Regions from separate parts of the Homo sapiens genome. Here regions 2, 3, 4 and 5 are each linked to region 1. Evidence: promoter capture Hi-C in human tissues and cell types (Jung and others, 2019). All regions are on one chromosome and are shown on one strand. Each heading gives the region's core, a stretch centred on a gene start or on the middle of the fragment in contact. The rest is flanking DNA. Distances are from core to core; before and after follow the strand shown.

What was found. Contacts are between HindIII fragments. The study calls those that stand out against the background at their distance.
Region 2: a fragment that was not itself captured here is called in contact with the fragment with the promoter of SLC16A8 in region 1 in 2 of the 25 tissues and cell types used here (dorsolateral prefrontal cortex and lymphoblastoid cells).
Region 3: a contact is called between a fragment that was not itself captured here and the fragment with the promoter of SLC16A8 in region 1, in 1 of the 25 tissues and cell types used here (dorsolateral prefrontal cortex).
Region 4: a fragment that was not itself captured here is called in contact with the fragment with the promoter of SLC16A8 in region 1 in 1 of the 25 tissues and cell types used here (spleen).
Region 5: a contact is called between a fragment that was not itself captured here and the fragment with the promoter of SLC16A8 in region 1, in 1 of the 25 tissues and cell types used here (dorsolateral prefrontal cortex).

What each region holds. Positions count from the first base shown.
Region 1 is chr22:38,082,882-38,085,558 of GRCh38, forward strand. SLC16A8 (solute carrier family 16 member 8) reads right to left here and starts at 1,303. Exons shown (of 6, transcript NM_013356.3): 1 at 1,107-1,303; 2 at 161-480. BAIAP2L2 (BAR/IMD domain containing adaptor protein 2 like 2) reads right to left here. Exons shown (of 14, transcript NM_025045.6): 14 at 2,019-2,494. The coding sequence ends at 2,419. RefSeq lists an enhancer at 787-1,568. The HindIII fragment of the contact is 9,296 bases long and covers 1-2,677 here.
Region 2 is chr22:38,539,761-38,542,437 of GRCh38, forward strand. The region is part of intron 8 of DMC1 (DNA meiotic recombinase 1); the gene reads right to left. Among named protein-coding and RNA genes, the nearest start is that of DMC1, 29 kb to the right of the region's middle. The HindIII fragment of the contact is 5,470 bases long and covers 1-2,677 here.
Region 3 is chr22:38,392,991-38,395,667 of GRCh38, forward strand. All of the region lies in intron 1 of TPTEP2-CSNK1E (TPTEP2-CSNK1E readthrough), which reads right to left. It also overlaps the pseudogene TPTEP2. Among named protein-coding and RNA genes, the nearest start is that of TPTEP2-CSNK1E, 4.6 kb to the right of the region's middle. The HindIII fragment of the contact is 3,049 bases long and covers 1-2,677 here.
Region 4 is chr22:38,367,145-38,369,821 of GRCh38, forward strand. All of the region lies in intron 3 of TPTEP2-CSNK1E (TPTEP2-CSNK1E readthrough), which reads right to left. It also overlaps the pseudogene TPTEP2. Among named protein-coding and RNA genes, the nearest start is that of TPTEP2-CSNK1E, 30 kb to the right of the region's middle. The HindIII fragment of the contact is 7,743 bases long and covers 1-2,677 here.
Region 5 is chr22:38,343,412-38,346,088 of GRCh38, forward strand. The region is part of intron 4 of TPTEP2-CSNK1E (TPTEP2-CSNK1E readthrough); the gene reads right to left. It also overlaps the pseudogene TPTEP2. Among named protein-coding and RNA genes, the nearest start is that of CSNK1E, 27 kb to the left of the region's middle. RefSeq lists an enhancer at 1,097-1,596. The HindIII fragment of the contact is 5,046 bases long and covers 1-2,677 here.

The DNA.
Region 1 (2,677 bases), core at 53-2,552:
CTGTTGGGAGGGGGCGGGGACAAGAGGGAGGGGCTGGGCCAGCAGCCTAGAGAAGGAGGGGGATGGAGACGAAGCATGGGGAAACTGAGGCACAGGGCTACCCACGTGAGGGTGGCTCAGGTCTGGGAACCAAAAGGGGAAACGGAGGTAGGACTCTCACCCCAAGTCTCCTTCTCCTGCAAAGGGCGCTGAAGGACGAGGGGAGGACGACGGGTCCCACCTGACTCTGCACCTCTGCAGGCTCCCTCTGAAGGACAACTGCTGGCCCCTCAGGGCCTCAGGTGGAAGGCGTCGGGAAGTGGAGCAGGTATGTGCCTGGAGGTGGGCGTCCAGCACCAAAGTCGCCCCGTACGCGTGAGGGTCTCGGGACAACAGAACAAACAGCAGAGGGGCAGATGCCGGCTGCAAAGGGCCGCTGTGCGTGATTTTCCTCTTTAGCCTTCCGCCATGTTCCTAATGTTTCTCAGTGATCACAAATGACTATTGTCATTAGAACATTAAGGGGACAAAAGCCACTTTCAACAGATATCAGCCAGGGGAGCTGAGTTCCCATGCATCTCAGCTCAGCCATGGATTCCCTCCCTGACTTGGGCCGGTCGCCTCCCCTCTCCCAACCTCCCTTTCCTCCGATGTAAGATGGGTGATTGATCACCCCGAGGCCAGCTGGGAATCTTGCGGGAGAGGAGTCAGGTCTCTGGCTTCTGCCAGACAGGTAGGAACCTTAGCAGCACTGAGAGAGTGGCCTTCTGCCCTCCAAACCTCAAACCCTCTATATGAAAAGAATGGCTCCAAAGCCTGTCTCATTCCTGGGGCTCCACCCGGGGCCCTCACAGCAGTTACAAGCGCCCCCATAACAGATGAGGAGGGTGTACTCAGAGACAGGTGCACCAGGAGCCGGGGGCTGGGGATAGCCTCCTGCCCTCCTGCCTGGAGTGTCCCTCCTGGCACTGGGCAGTGCCACCACCCCCAGGGTATCCGGGACTCTGCCCCTCCTCCACTAGGACCAGGTTGTGGCTTTTCCTGCCTGTTGTCCTCTTGTCACAGGGGCAGCCACTTGAAGGTGGAGACAGGAGGGTGATCCCAGGCAGCCCTCACATCACACTCACCTGAGCCTGCCTCGTGGGTTTGGGGGTCCAGCCTCACATCTCCTGAGGCCTGCAGGGAGGGGCCGCCGCCGCAGCTCCCGGTGAAGCTTACCCGGATGGGGGCTGCCAGACACCCCAGCTTCCCACCAGCCTGGGCTGAGCCTCTGGCCGACTCCCGCCTGACGCTCCCTGCCCCAGGCCTGGAGCTTAGAGTGTGTGCCCCCACCACACCTCACCCCTGCTAAGAGGCTTTTGTCCAGGAGGGGAGAAGAGACTGGGAGCCCCAGGCCAGGCTGGGCCTCGGCGGTGGGCTCCCTGTCCCAAGCCAGTCCAGGAGGGAGGAAGAGAATCCCTGTGCCTCCTGGAGCCTGGGGTGGTAGACACAGAGACCTTGCCCAGGGGGTCCTAGTCTGGTGCTGGGGGCACAGCCCTGCCCTGAAGAGACCCCAACGGTTCTAATCACCTCAGTGCCTCATCTGCCCCCGCCCCAACCCCCCGCCCCAGGCCACATTCCAGGAGGGGCTGGCAGCTTTCTCTAGAATGAAGCTAATCCACGCCTGTGCCTGGGAATGTGGGGGGGGGAGGGGCCAAAACAAAGGGTGCTGTGTCCAGGCCGCCTGAGGGCAGCTTGCTGGTGGTCCCAGCCCTTGGCCACTGCCACCTCTCCCCTGACCCGAGCAGCCGCTACTTCCTAGGAAACCCACAGGTCGAAATGAGAGCAGGTGGAGATGGGGGCTGCAGCGCGAGGGCTTTGGGGCAGCCCTAAAGAGTTCTCCAAACAAACAAACAAGGGGCTGGGAGTGAGATGGCTTCCCGGGGAACAGCCAGGACCTCAGTACCCCCTAGACCCCATTCTCCAATGGGGGAGTCTCTATCCCTCACCCCCTGCCCTGTCCCCCAAATAAGACACCACCAGTCCTGCTGCCGCATCACTTTGCGTCCACTTCCTTTATTTCTCATCATTTACAAAAGATGTACAGAGAGGGCATGTGTTGGGCACGGAGCAGGTACAAGGGGCTCCTCCCCACGGGGGCAGAAAAGGGGGAAAGAGGTTAGGGGGCAAGAGGTGGGCCCCCCAGGGAGAGTCCTGGAGCCCCTGGAGGGGGAGAAATTGTCCTGTCCCCCCATTCCGCCTGCTTTACTTTGAAGGTCTCGGACCCCAAGCCAGTGCTTTGGAGCTGCTCAGGCTGCCGGGGTGGTCTGGGGAGGGCAGCCACCCCCCGTCTCAGGGACCCGCTTCTTGGATCTGCTGCTGTTGCTGCTGTCGCTGCCATTGCCAGCTCTGAACAGCCCCTGGGCAGGTGCACTGTGGGGTACGACCTCGGACCCCGCCTCAGCGGATGAGGGGTGCTGAGCGGTCATTGGTGATGGTGGGACGAAGCTTGACAGTGGCAAAAGGATTTGTGCCCCTGTAGGAGGAGAGAGAGAATGGGGTGAGAAGGGCAGATGATCCCCACCTGGCCATGGCTCAGGAAGGCAGCTGGGCAACTGAGCTGGGTCCTGCCTCCTGCCCCTATTTGGTCTCCATCCACTCCTTGCCCCGCTTCATCTTTTTTTTTCTTTTAAGAGATAGGGTCTCACAGTGTTGCTCA
Region 2 (2,677 bases), core at 107-2,606, 460 kb after region 1:
GCTTATGCAGCAAATCAGTTACAAGAGAAAAACTAGGAACTAAGCTTTGTGAGTCCTTTTGTTCTCAGATCTATAAAAATAGACCTGTAATAGATAATATCACTGAATTATAATTCAATAACTGCAAAGTGAATTAATTCACTCTCTTCATACCCCTCATTCCTCAATATGAAATAGTTTATTATATTATTAATCACATGTTGTTAAATGATAAATTTGACTACATGAACCAAAGGGTCAAAAAGGTAACTTCAAGGGCCCAGAAGAGAAATATCGACCAAAGGTTTTTTGTTGGCATAGGTTTTCTTTTTCTTTTCAAATCTTACCTGGAAAGTATATACAGTTTAAAATCTACTTTCTTCTAAAGGAGTTGTTAGCTTTTTTTTTGTTTTCTCCTCCTTCAGTCTCCTGAGTAGCTGTGATTACAGGCGCGAGCCATCATACCTAGCTAATTTTTGTATTTTTAGTGGAGACGGGGTTTCACCATGTTGGCCAGGCTGGTTTCAAACTACTGACCTCAAGTGATATGCCTGCCTCGGCCTCCCAAAGTGATAGGATTACAGGCATGAGCCACCATGCCTAGCCAGGAGTTGTTAGCTTTCTGAAATTAGCAAATTCATAGGGAAGCAAACTAAGTGCACCTGCAAAAGTATTCTGGAAGAAGCTAATAATCACTTATACCTATAAACTATAAAGGAGTAATAAACATTTTTTTTAGGTCTTTGGTGATCCCAACAATATGTCTGAAGTAAAATGAGGTAAAATTAAATGCATGTTTGTAACCTTATTTCACTTTGTTTATAGTGTTTACATAACACTGATCCCAGTATAAGTAACTGTAAATCAAGGACCATTTATAATCTTATTTGTGATGTTTGCAATTAATTTAAATTCCCAGCCATTTATATCCTAATGCACTAGATATGTTCTTGTTGTTAGAGCTTTGGTGACAGCCACAAAAATCTTCCATTGTTATTGAGTATACCCAGTAGATGTTTTTGGTGGACAAGTTAGACAGGGAATTGGAAGAGGCAATAAAAACATTTTCATCATGTCGGTTTCTACAAATCCCAGATACTATGTTGTGGCAGGCCAGGTCTTACTAATGCAGGCCTCCATAACAACTGTTTCAGCACTGACTGAGTGGTTAAGTTAAATATTAAAAGCTGAAAGTGCCCTTATACAAAGGCTGGAATGTAACAAAAGGCCACCAAGAGTTTTGCCCAGGCCTTTCCTGGGCCTTGAAGCATGACAAGATAATGAAGAAATTCTTAACAGTACCTGTTTAGGATTAAACGAGTTTTACTGGGGGCCTGAAGAAACTCCCTAGGTCTCCACAAACAAGTTATTGGGGGTCTGAAGGAACTCCCCAAACCTCCATGATTTAGCAGGAGATAAGATAAGGGTAATCACCCCAGCACCTGGACCCATTTAGATTAAGTAAATTTACTGAGGCTCCAGAGGAATGTCTTTAGGACTCAGATCTTAGTTATAGATCAAAAGAAGTTAATCACTTATATATTTTTAAAAATTTTTATTTTATTTTTTTGAGATGGAGTCTCACTCTGTTGCTCAGGCTGGAGTCCAGTGGCACAATCTCGGCTCACTGCAACCTCTGCCTCCCTGGTTCAAGTGATTCTCTTGCCTGAGCATCCTGAGTAGCTGGGACTACAGGCGTGTGCCACCATGCCCAGCTAATTTTTGTATTTTTAGTAGAGACAAGGTTTCGCCATGTTGGCCAGGATGGTCTTGAACTCCTGACTTCAAGTGTTCCACCCACCTCGGCCTCTCAAAGTGACTTATGTCGTTAGATGAATGCACACTTACAATAAACATATAGCTGAGAAGGTATATAAGTTCTGGAAGACTTTGTAATTTTGAGTTGGTCTGGTGTTATTTTCCAGGTCTTCTCCCTGTAACCGGTTACGGAAACAAAAACTCCCTCCTTTCCCAGTTCATTTGCATCTCATTATTGGGCCATAAGAATAAGCAGCCTGATCCTCAGTTTGGTCTGGGAACAATGTGACCGCGGGTGTAAAACTTGGGCTTAAATCCTCAACAAAATACTAGCAAACCAAATTCAACAATACATTAAACAGATCATTCATCATGACCAAGTAGGATTCGTCTCAGGGATGCAAGGATGGTTCAACATATACAAATCAATGTGATATATCAACAGAACGGACAAAAAACATATGATCATTTCAATTGATGCTGAAAAAAGCATTTGATAAAATTCAACGTTCATTTATGATAAAAAAAAAACCCTCAAAAAATTGGGTATAGAAGGAACATAACCCAACATAAAAACCATACACAACAGACCCACAGCTAGTATCATACTAGATGGGGAAAAACTGAAAGTCTTTCCTCTAAGATCTGGAACAAGTATGCCCACTTTCACCACTGTTATTCAACATAATTCTCAAAGTCCTAGCTAGAGCAATCAGACAAGAGAAATAAATAAAGGTCATCCAGATTGAAAAGGAGGAAGTCAAATTATCCTTGTTTGCTGATAATAAGATCTTATGTTTGGAAAAACCCAGACTCCACCAAAAAGCTATTAGAACTGATAAACAAATTCAGTAAAGTTGCAGGATACAAAATCAACATACAAAAATCAGCAGCATTTCTAAATACCGACAGGGAACAATCTGAAAAAGAAATTCAAAAA
Region 3 (2,677 bases), core at 59-2,558, 310 kb after region 1:
CAAATAACTATACCCACTACTAGACCAGTACACCATACCACTTTTTCCAATGAGCGCTCTGAATTAAACACAATTCAAGTAACCTAGCTAAATACAAGCTTAGGCAATGCCTTTTAAGGCATAAGATCATTCTTCTGCAAGATTTAAATATTCCCCTCCCCATCCTATCTTTTGCTGACTACATACTAAAGTTGTATATCTGGCTCTTTCCAGTCACCTGTTTGCTTTCAAAATCAAGGGGGAAAGTCTCCTTTCAATTAATAATACAATCATTGTTCAGTCGATTTATAAACTGAAGAAAAACTCTATATTGATTACAAAAGAAAGAAACACTTCTTCAGTATAACTGAGATGCTTTATGTTATCCTTATTTGATAGAGGTAGAAGTAAAAGTAACTATTATTCCTAATGCTGATTCAAGAAATGTCTAGAGTCTACATTTCCAGTCCATTTAACTACATTTTAAATTCCAAAGGTTTCCAGACACACCAGAAAATAATGGAACACCAATACAGAAACACTACACGAGTCTGTTAAAAACCTAGCTTCTGAGTCTGGGGGAGCTTTTCTATAGGAAGTACAGTCATGTGGAGGTCAGAAACAAGTTTTGTAAAGCTTAATAAGAACAAAGGCTAAGTAAGGAATCCAACTAACTCTCTCATACAACTTCTTCAGCTGCCCTTTCAGGTTTAGTAATTTTACTTCTCAACTTTATCATAAAATTACCAAACTGTCCCCAAATTTCCAGTAACTCAATTATGCTGATACCCTGGGCAGGAAGTAATGGAGATGTTCAGAACAGTCAGTCAACAAATGTTCAAATGGAAAGCATTCCAACATTAAATATAAAAGGGTAATATGTGGCGGCAGCTGGCTAGCGGGGGCTTCCCCCCTATTTATCTGGAAGATAGATGTGTACAATAATTGAGCATGTCATCGTGAGCTGCAGATTTTAGGAAAGAATGGTCCCTGTTCTTCCACTTTCTTAAAGTCAGATTTCTATCTCTCTTCGTGGTCTAAATTCAAAAACCTTTGCCCCAGATACCACTGCAAATTTGTCTGTTATTACTGGTTGGGGAAAAATAACCCAGTTCACCTTACTCCAAAAACATGAGCATTTCAGAAAAGTTTTTATTCTGCCTCTAAAATGAGGCCATTAAGTGATATTCAATAATCAGGCTTCCTTCACCCGAATTCAAGAAATTTCCTGCCGTCTTTGTGTAATAAACTTTTTTCTTCCATGTGCATTTTAATTTTAACACCCCTCCCCGCCGCAGAATCTGGAAAAGAGGTGTGCGGATCAAGACCCCTCCACCCGCCATTGTCTCAAGTTTAATTTACATGCTGTAACCAAACCCTTCACTCTTTCGAATATTTAACAAGATTGAGATTCCTTTAATTCCATGTTGGTAGCTGTTCTGTAAATACCTTTCAGGTTTTTATTTTTTAATATCCCAGTAATCTAAAAACTATTCTGTTGTTAGATTTCAATTGAAGGAACTGGATTTAAAATCTTATTACGTTTATTTTATCAGTGGAATACTCAGTTTATGCAACTGTCTCATGTTTTTCATTCCTACTTTCTAATTCTAAGGCTTGAAAACAGCCATTGCTCAGTCCTTCAGCTTCACCTTCCCAATTCATTCATTAAACATTCTGCTCAGGGATTAAACTGAAATGGGAAATTAGGAAAGAACCATTTAAAACAAATCATACCCAGCAACCTCAAAATCTATAACATACAGGCCATATGGGCATACAGGAAATGGGACAATTTGAATTTTTTTTTTTAAGCAAATGGAAACAAAGCTTCATATAAAACATAAAAAGGGTCCAATCATTTACTTTCAAATAGAGTCAGCTAAAAGTAGCTCCTTTTTTAAAGTGGCATCTTTCAGGCAGTCAAGAGTCATTAAAACTACTCCAAAGTTCTTATCAACCAATATCATGTTTGTGACAACTGTGAGAAAAGAATGTAATTTTATAAAGTGGGAAAACAGCACATCTTTTGGGACCCCTGAGGCTCTAATCAGGCATCTCAGAATTAAGAGTGCTCCAGGGTTGGGAAATGGCTACCCTGCTGTGGCGAAAACATGCCATTTCATAATAAACGTTGTTAAGAGAGAAAAAAGTGATAAGCATGTACCTGCAATGAGGAGATAGAACGACTTAGTCATTGCCAGGCCATTATATTCCTTAATTATTTCATCAGTCTATAAGTGACTTGATGATTAAGTCTTATTTTCAGATTTCCTCCAAAACAAGTCCACTGGAAGGGGATTAGGGGCTCCTACTCCTCCCTGAACTTTTCCTGCCAAAAATGGAGGCTCACAAAGAAAATGCAAATCTACCCCCACCTTAAAAAAGTAAAGGCAGTCAAAGTCAAAACCTTCACTGCTCCTCCTTCCTCCCCTACTACGTGGAAAAAAATTTTGACCTGTTACCAAAATAGATTCCTCAGGGTAAAGGGGAGAAAAGTTTTCTACAAATTTTTTCTAAGTGGTGTATTAGTTCCTTTTTTTGAGTAAGAAGTGAAAGGGAATAGGAACCCAACACAACTGCTAAACTTCGATCTCACAAGTTATTAAAAAACAGCAAAGGTCAAACTGCAAAGCGTTAGAAAAATGTGAAGACAAAAGGATTAAAAGAGTGGGACACTAAAGAAAAAAGTGTGTGT
Region 4 (2,677 bases), core at 109-2,608, 280 kb after region 1:
AAAAACTAAATTTAAATGACAATTCAAAAATAAAGAGATAGAGGCCAGGCACGGTGGCTCACGCCTGTAATCCCAGCACTTTGGGTGGCCAAGGTGGGTGGATCATGAGGTCAAGAGATCGAGACTATCCTGGCCAACATGGTGAAACTCCATCTCTACTAAAAATACAAAAAATTAGCTGGGCGTGGTGGTGCGTGCCTGTAGTCCCAGCTACTCACGAGGCTGAGGCAGGAGAATCACTTGAACCTGGGAAGCGGAGGTTGCAGTGAGCTGAGTGGCGCCACTGCACTCCAGCCTGGTGACAGAGCGAGACTCCGGCTCAAAAAAAAAAAAAGAGAGAGAAAAAAAGATATGAGATACTAAACCTTAAAACACTTAAAAGTTCCAATATTAATATCAAAGTTGAATTAAAAGCAAAAATATTAACTATGAACATGACTCATTTTTTATCAATAGAAGGTGGAAGCTACATGACACTAACAAGACCATGTTTAATGAAATGGGATTTGTATTGAAGGCAGGTGCTATCTCTCCCACTGGACACATTTTTCTCTTGTGCAGACTCTGGGGGTAGGGAGGTGGCCATGATGAAAAGCACGAAAAACACTGTAGTGACTCTGGTCTTCCTGCTCCCTCTAGATCACTAAAACAGGGTAAGGACAATACAGGGGGATGACATGTTCATGCTGAAAAAACTATGAGTCACTTAGGAGAAAAGTAAATTTCTACACTTTATACCTTAAGACAAAGTAAATTCAGGGCAGATATTTTATTTAAATGAAGAAAATAAATTCAAAACAGAAATTTTGGTGAATATGTTTAAAATCTTGGGGTAAGAAGGACTTTCTGAGAATAACATTAAAGGCAAAATCACAAAGAAAAGTACAGATACATTTGATTACATGAGGATGAAATGCTTTTATATAGTGAAAAGCAAGACAACCTGGGAGAAATTGCTTATATTACATAAAATAGAAAAAGGATCAATAGATTTAACTTTTCAGTCCAAAGACAGAAAAGGATAAATGAAGGTGTGTCAAAGAACGTGCATTAGAACAAATATATTTACTAATATCAGAGAAATCAATGATGGCTAGTGTTAAGTGTGGGAGGGGAGAAATGTACACTTTGCATCTTGATGTTAAAGCACATATCAGTATCAATAGCGTCACAATCATTCCCTTTGACACAGAATTTCCACTTCTGAGAATTTATAACAAGCAAATAACCAACAATATACAGAGATTTAGCCTCAAATATATTCATTTTTGTAACAGTTAAAAACTTGTAAAAAACTTAATTGTTCAGCAATATCTGACTATTAAATAAATTATATATAGCACATCTACACCATGAAATATCACACAACTGTTACAAATAATGTTGTAAGTGCACATGAATATATATTAACAAAAAAAATGATGTCATTAATAAGGTTATTTACAAAAGAATAAGTATGGTCTCATATCTGTAAACAAAAAAAGTATATGCTTGAAGAACTTAGAAGTGCATGCATCAAAGCTTAAGAATGACTATATGTGGGTAGATTTGTTGATTGTATTTTCTGATTTTCCTTTAATGACCTCTTACGTTATTTTCAGTTTTTAGAATAAAACCTATTTACAGATCTACAGAGTTTTCGAAGTATTTTTGCATGTTATTTTCGTTTTATTACTAATTTTTTACAATACAATATCCAGTACATAGATTGCATTATAGCCAGTTTACATTTGAATAATCTGAAAGTTAAAGAGGGTTAGTGACTTGCTGAGTATCAGGTGAATGAATATATGATATGCCAAAGCCAAGCACTGATTCCAGCTTTTACTATAAATCCAGTATCATCCCCCTGGTATGAAACACCAGCATTTCTCACAGGGACTATTGCAAATTCCTCCTATATCTACGTAATGAGACTTTGTAATTTAAAAATAAAATAAAATGAAAACCTGCTTTATTTTGTTTGGAGTCAGGAAAGAAGGAAATGCTTGCCTTGCTTAATCTAATTTTGTTTCAGCCCTGGGCAGCTCCATTACAGAAAACGTATAGCTAATCTGCAGACACACAGTTTAATTCAGTGGCAAATTCAGGGTAATTTGAAGAACTACTTGTATTTGCCCTCTTTGTTTCCAATCTTTGTTTAGACACCAACAGCTTACAACCATGGTGAGTTAACTTCCTCTATGGCCGTACTTCCTCTCCAGCATTGACACAAGCTGGTGAATGGTTATACAACTGGGCAAGAAAGAAGCAGAAGAAAAATCTCCTGAATATGTCTGCAGTTCAGACACAAGCCAGTTTAAGAATGTATTGTTTCATTACAGTAAGTACATGATAAAATGCCTTCAGGTCAGTGCAACAGGAAGTACTCTAGTGAGATTAGAAACAAATAAGAATAAAATCCCAATGAGCATAAAGAGGTCTTTAGTCAGCAAAATATGTTTGCTTTTGCTATCAATACTATTTGCTCATAGGCAAAATCTACAAAATTGGGAATCACACCATATCCAGTAAAAATGAGAAACGTTCACTATTGATGAGTTAAGTAGCATTCTGCATTCCTGTTTTTTTTAAAAAAACTTTTAATGGAATTAATTTCCTCTAAGAATACTTTTTACATTTTCAAGCTAGAAGAACATTTATTTCTGAATGGATGGAATTTTTTTTCAAAATAATA
Region 5 (2,677 bases), core at 98-2,597, 260 kb after region 1:
GAAGAGAAGGGATTTGCTCAAGATCCCAAGACTAGTCATAATCGATAGCAACTACACATTGTGCCCTTGCTCTGCGCCTGGGACTGTTCTAAGGGCTTTTCATGAGCTGACTCATTTAATCCTCTCAACAACCCTCTGTGGTTGGCCTTATATTATGTTCCTCCTTTTCAAATGAGGAAACTGAGGAGGCCCCAAAATGGTGGTGGTGCCACCTTTTTTTTTTTGAGACGGAGTCTTGCTCTGTCGCCCAGGCTGGAGTGCAGTGGCCCAATCTCAGCTCACTGCAAGCTCCGCCTCCCGGGTTCACGCCATTCTCCTGCCTCAGCCTCCCCAGTAGCTGGGACTACAGGCACCTGCCACCACGCCCGGCTAATTTTTTTATATTTTTAGTAGAGACGGAGTTTCACCATGTTAGCCAGGATGGTCTCGATCTCCTGACCTCATGATCTGCCCACCTCGGCCTCCCAAAGTGCTGAGATTACAGGCGTGAGCCACCGTGCCCGGCCGAGGTGCCACCTTTGATGCATCGGTTGCTAATTCACGTTGGGAGATCCTGGAGGACCGAGAAACCAGAAAACACGGTTCTTGCTCTGGTAAGTGTAGACATGGACAAGGTGATCAGAGCCATAAGAGAGAAGGGATGGGAGTCACGAAGTCTTCCCAGAGGAGCTTCACTGCAGCTGGGCCTTCAAGTATGTGTAGGAGTTTGCCAAGGCAGTAAAGGCAGAGGCCCACCAACTGAGTCAGGCCTGGGGTGCGATTTGGGCCGGGGCAACGACTCCATTCCTCATCACAGACAACCTTCCATGAATCTCTGCCCTTGGGCAGGAGGAAGAGGGAGAGGGTGTGGCTTGGCCCATTGCATACTTGGAGTCTGTAGACAGCATTACAAGATGAGGATTGCTGAGAGCTCTGGACTAGGAGTCTGAAGATGAACCTTCTTCTTCTTCTTTTCTTTTCTTTTTTTTTCTTTTGAGACAGAGTTTCACTCTTGTTGCCCAGGCTGGAGCGCAATGGTGAGATCTCGACTCGCCGCAACGTCTGCCTCCCGGGTTCAAGCGATTCTCCTGCCTCAGCCTCCCAAGTAGCTGGGATTACAGGCATGCACCACCACGCCCGGCTAATTTTGTATTTTTAGTAGAGATGGAGTTTCTCCATGTTGGTCAGGCTGGTCTCGAACTCCCAACATCAGATGATCTGCCCGCCTCGGCCTCCCAAAGTGCTTGGATTACAGGTGTGAGCCACTGCGTCCAGCCCTAAGCTGAACCTTCTGTGGGCTGCAGAAGACGCCTGGGTGCTGTACTCAGGTGCAGTCCCTCCCCTCAAAGGCCTAAGATAAACGGATAGAGATGGAACTGAGGGTGAGTCGTTCCCAGCCCAGAATGGTGAGAGGTCACCCAGCTCTGGTCCTAGCTCCAGCTTCAAGATTCAGACCACAGAGATTCACCCGGACCATTGACTTGAAAAGAGCCCCAGCAAACTTAGATTCAAAGTGCCCCTTGAAATATATGTGTATTTGCTTCTATGTACATACAGCATCTCTGGATGGGCCCAGAAGAAAAATATTTGCGAGTCATGCTTTTTTTTTTTTTTTTTTTTTTGAGACAGAGTATCGCTCTTTTGCCCAGGCCAGAATGCAGTGGCGCAATCTCGGCTCACTGCAAGCTCCACCTCCCGGGTTCACGCCATTCTCCTGCCTCAGCCTCCCGAGTAGCTGGGACTATAGGCGCCCTCCACCACACCCGGCTAATTTTTTGTATTTTTAGTAGAGACAGGGTTTCACCATGTTAACCAGGATGGTCTTGGTCTCCTGACCTCGTGATCCGCCCGCCAAGGCCTCCCAAAGTGCTGGGATTACAGGCGTAAGCCACCGCACCCAGCCCATGCTTTCTTTAGTATATAAAAAGCAGTTACAAATCAATAAGAAAAATACTAATAATATAATATAAAAATGACTAAGAATAGTAAGAGACTGTTCCTAGGAAAGAAAATACAAAGGTTGGGGACAGGGTGGAAGGGAAACTGAGAGGGAAGGAGACTGTACTGTACCCTCTTTGGTAACTTCTTTTTTTTTTTTGAGACAGGGTCTCACTCTGTTGCCCAGGCTGGAGTGCAGTGGTGTGATCTTGGCTCACTACAACCTCCGCCTCCCAGGTTCAAGCGATTCTCCTGCCTCAGCCTCCCAAGTAGCTGGGATTACAGGTGTGCACCACCACGCCCGGCTGATTTTTTGTATTTTAGTAGAGATGGGGTTTCACCATGTTGGCCAGGCTGGTCTCGAACTCCTAACCTCAGGCGATTTGCCTGCCTCAGCCTCAAAGTGCTGGGACTGCAGGGGTGAGCCACCGTGCCCGCCCAACTTTTGAATTTTGATGTCTGTGAAAATATTTTCCATTCCATAAATCGAATTAAATTAAATGACCAATTTCCCCATTTTACAGAGAAGGAAACTGGGTCAACAGAATCTGCAGGCTCCTCTCCCACAAGGCCCAGGGTGATGGCAGAATGGTGAGGGAAGGGGACCTGCCACCAGGCATCCTTGGGAGGGCGCTCCCCTTGGCTTCCTGATTGAATGCTCAGCTGCCTCTCCAGTTTGCAGATGTGGAAATGGAGGCAAAGAGTGCGAGAAGGACACCCCAGGCTCACTGGCTGGGGTACAGTGGGGACCTAACACCCT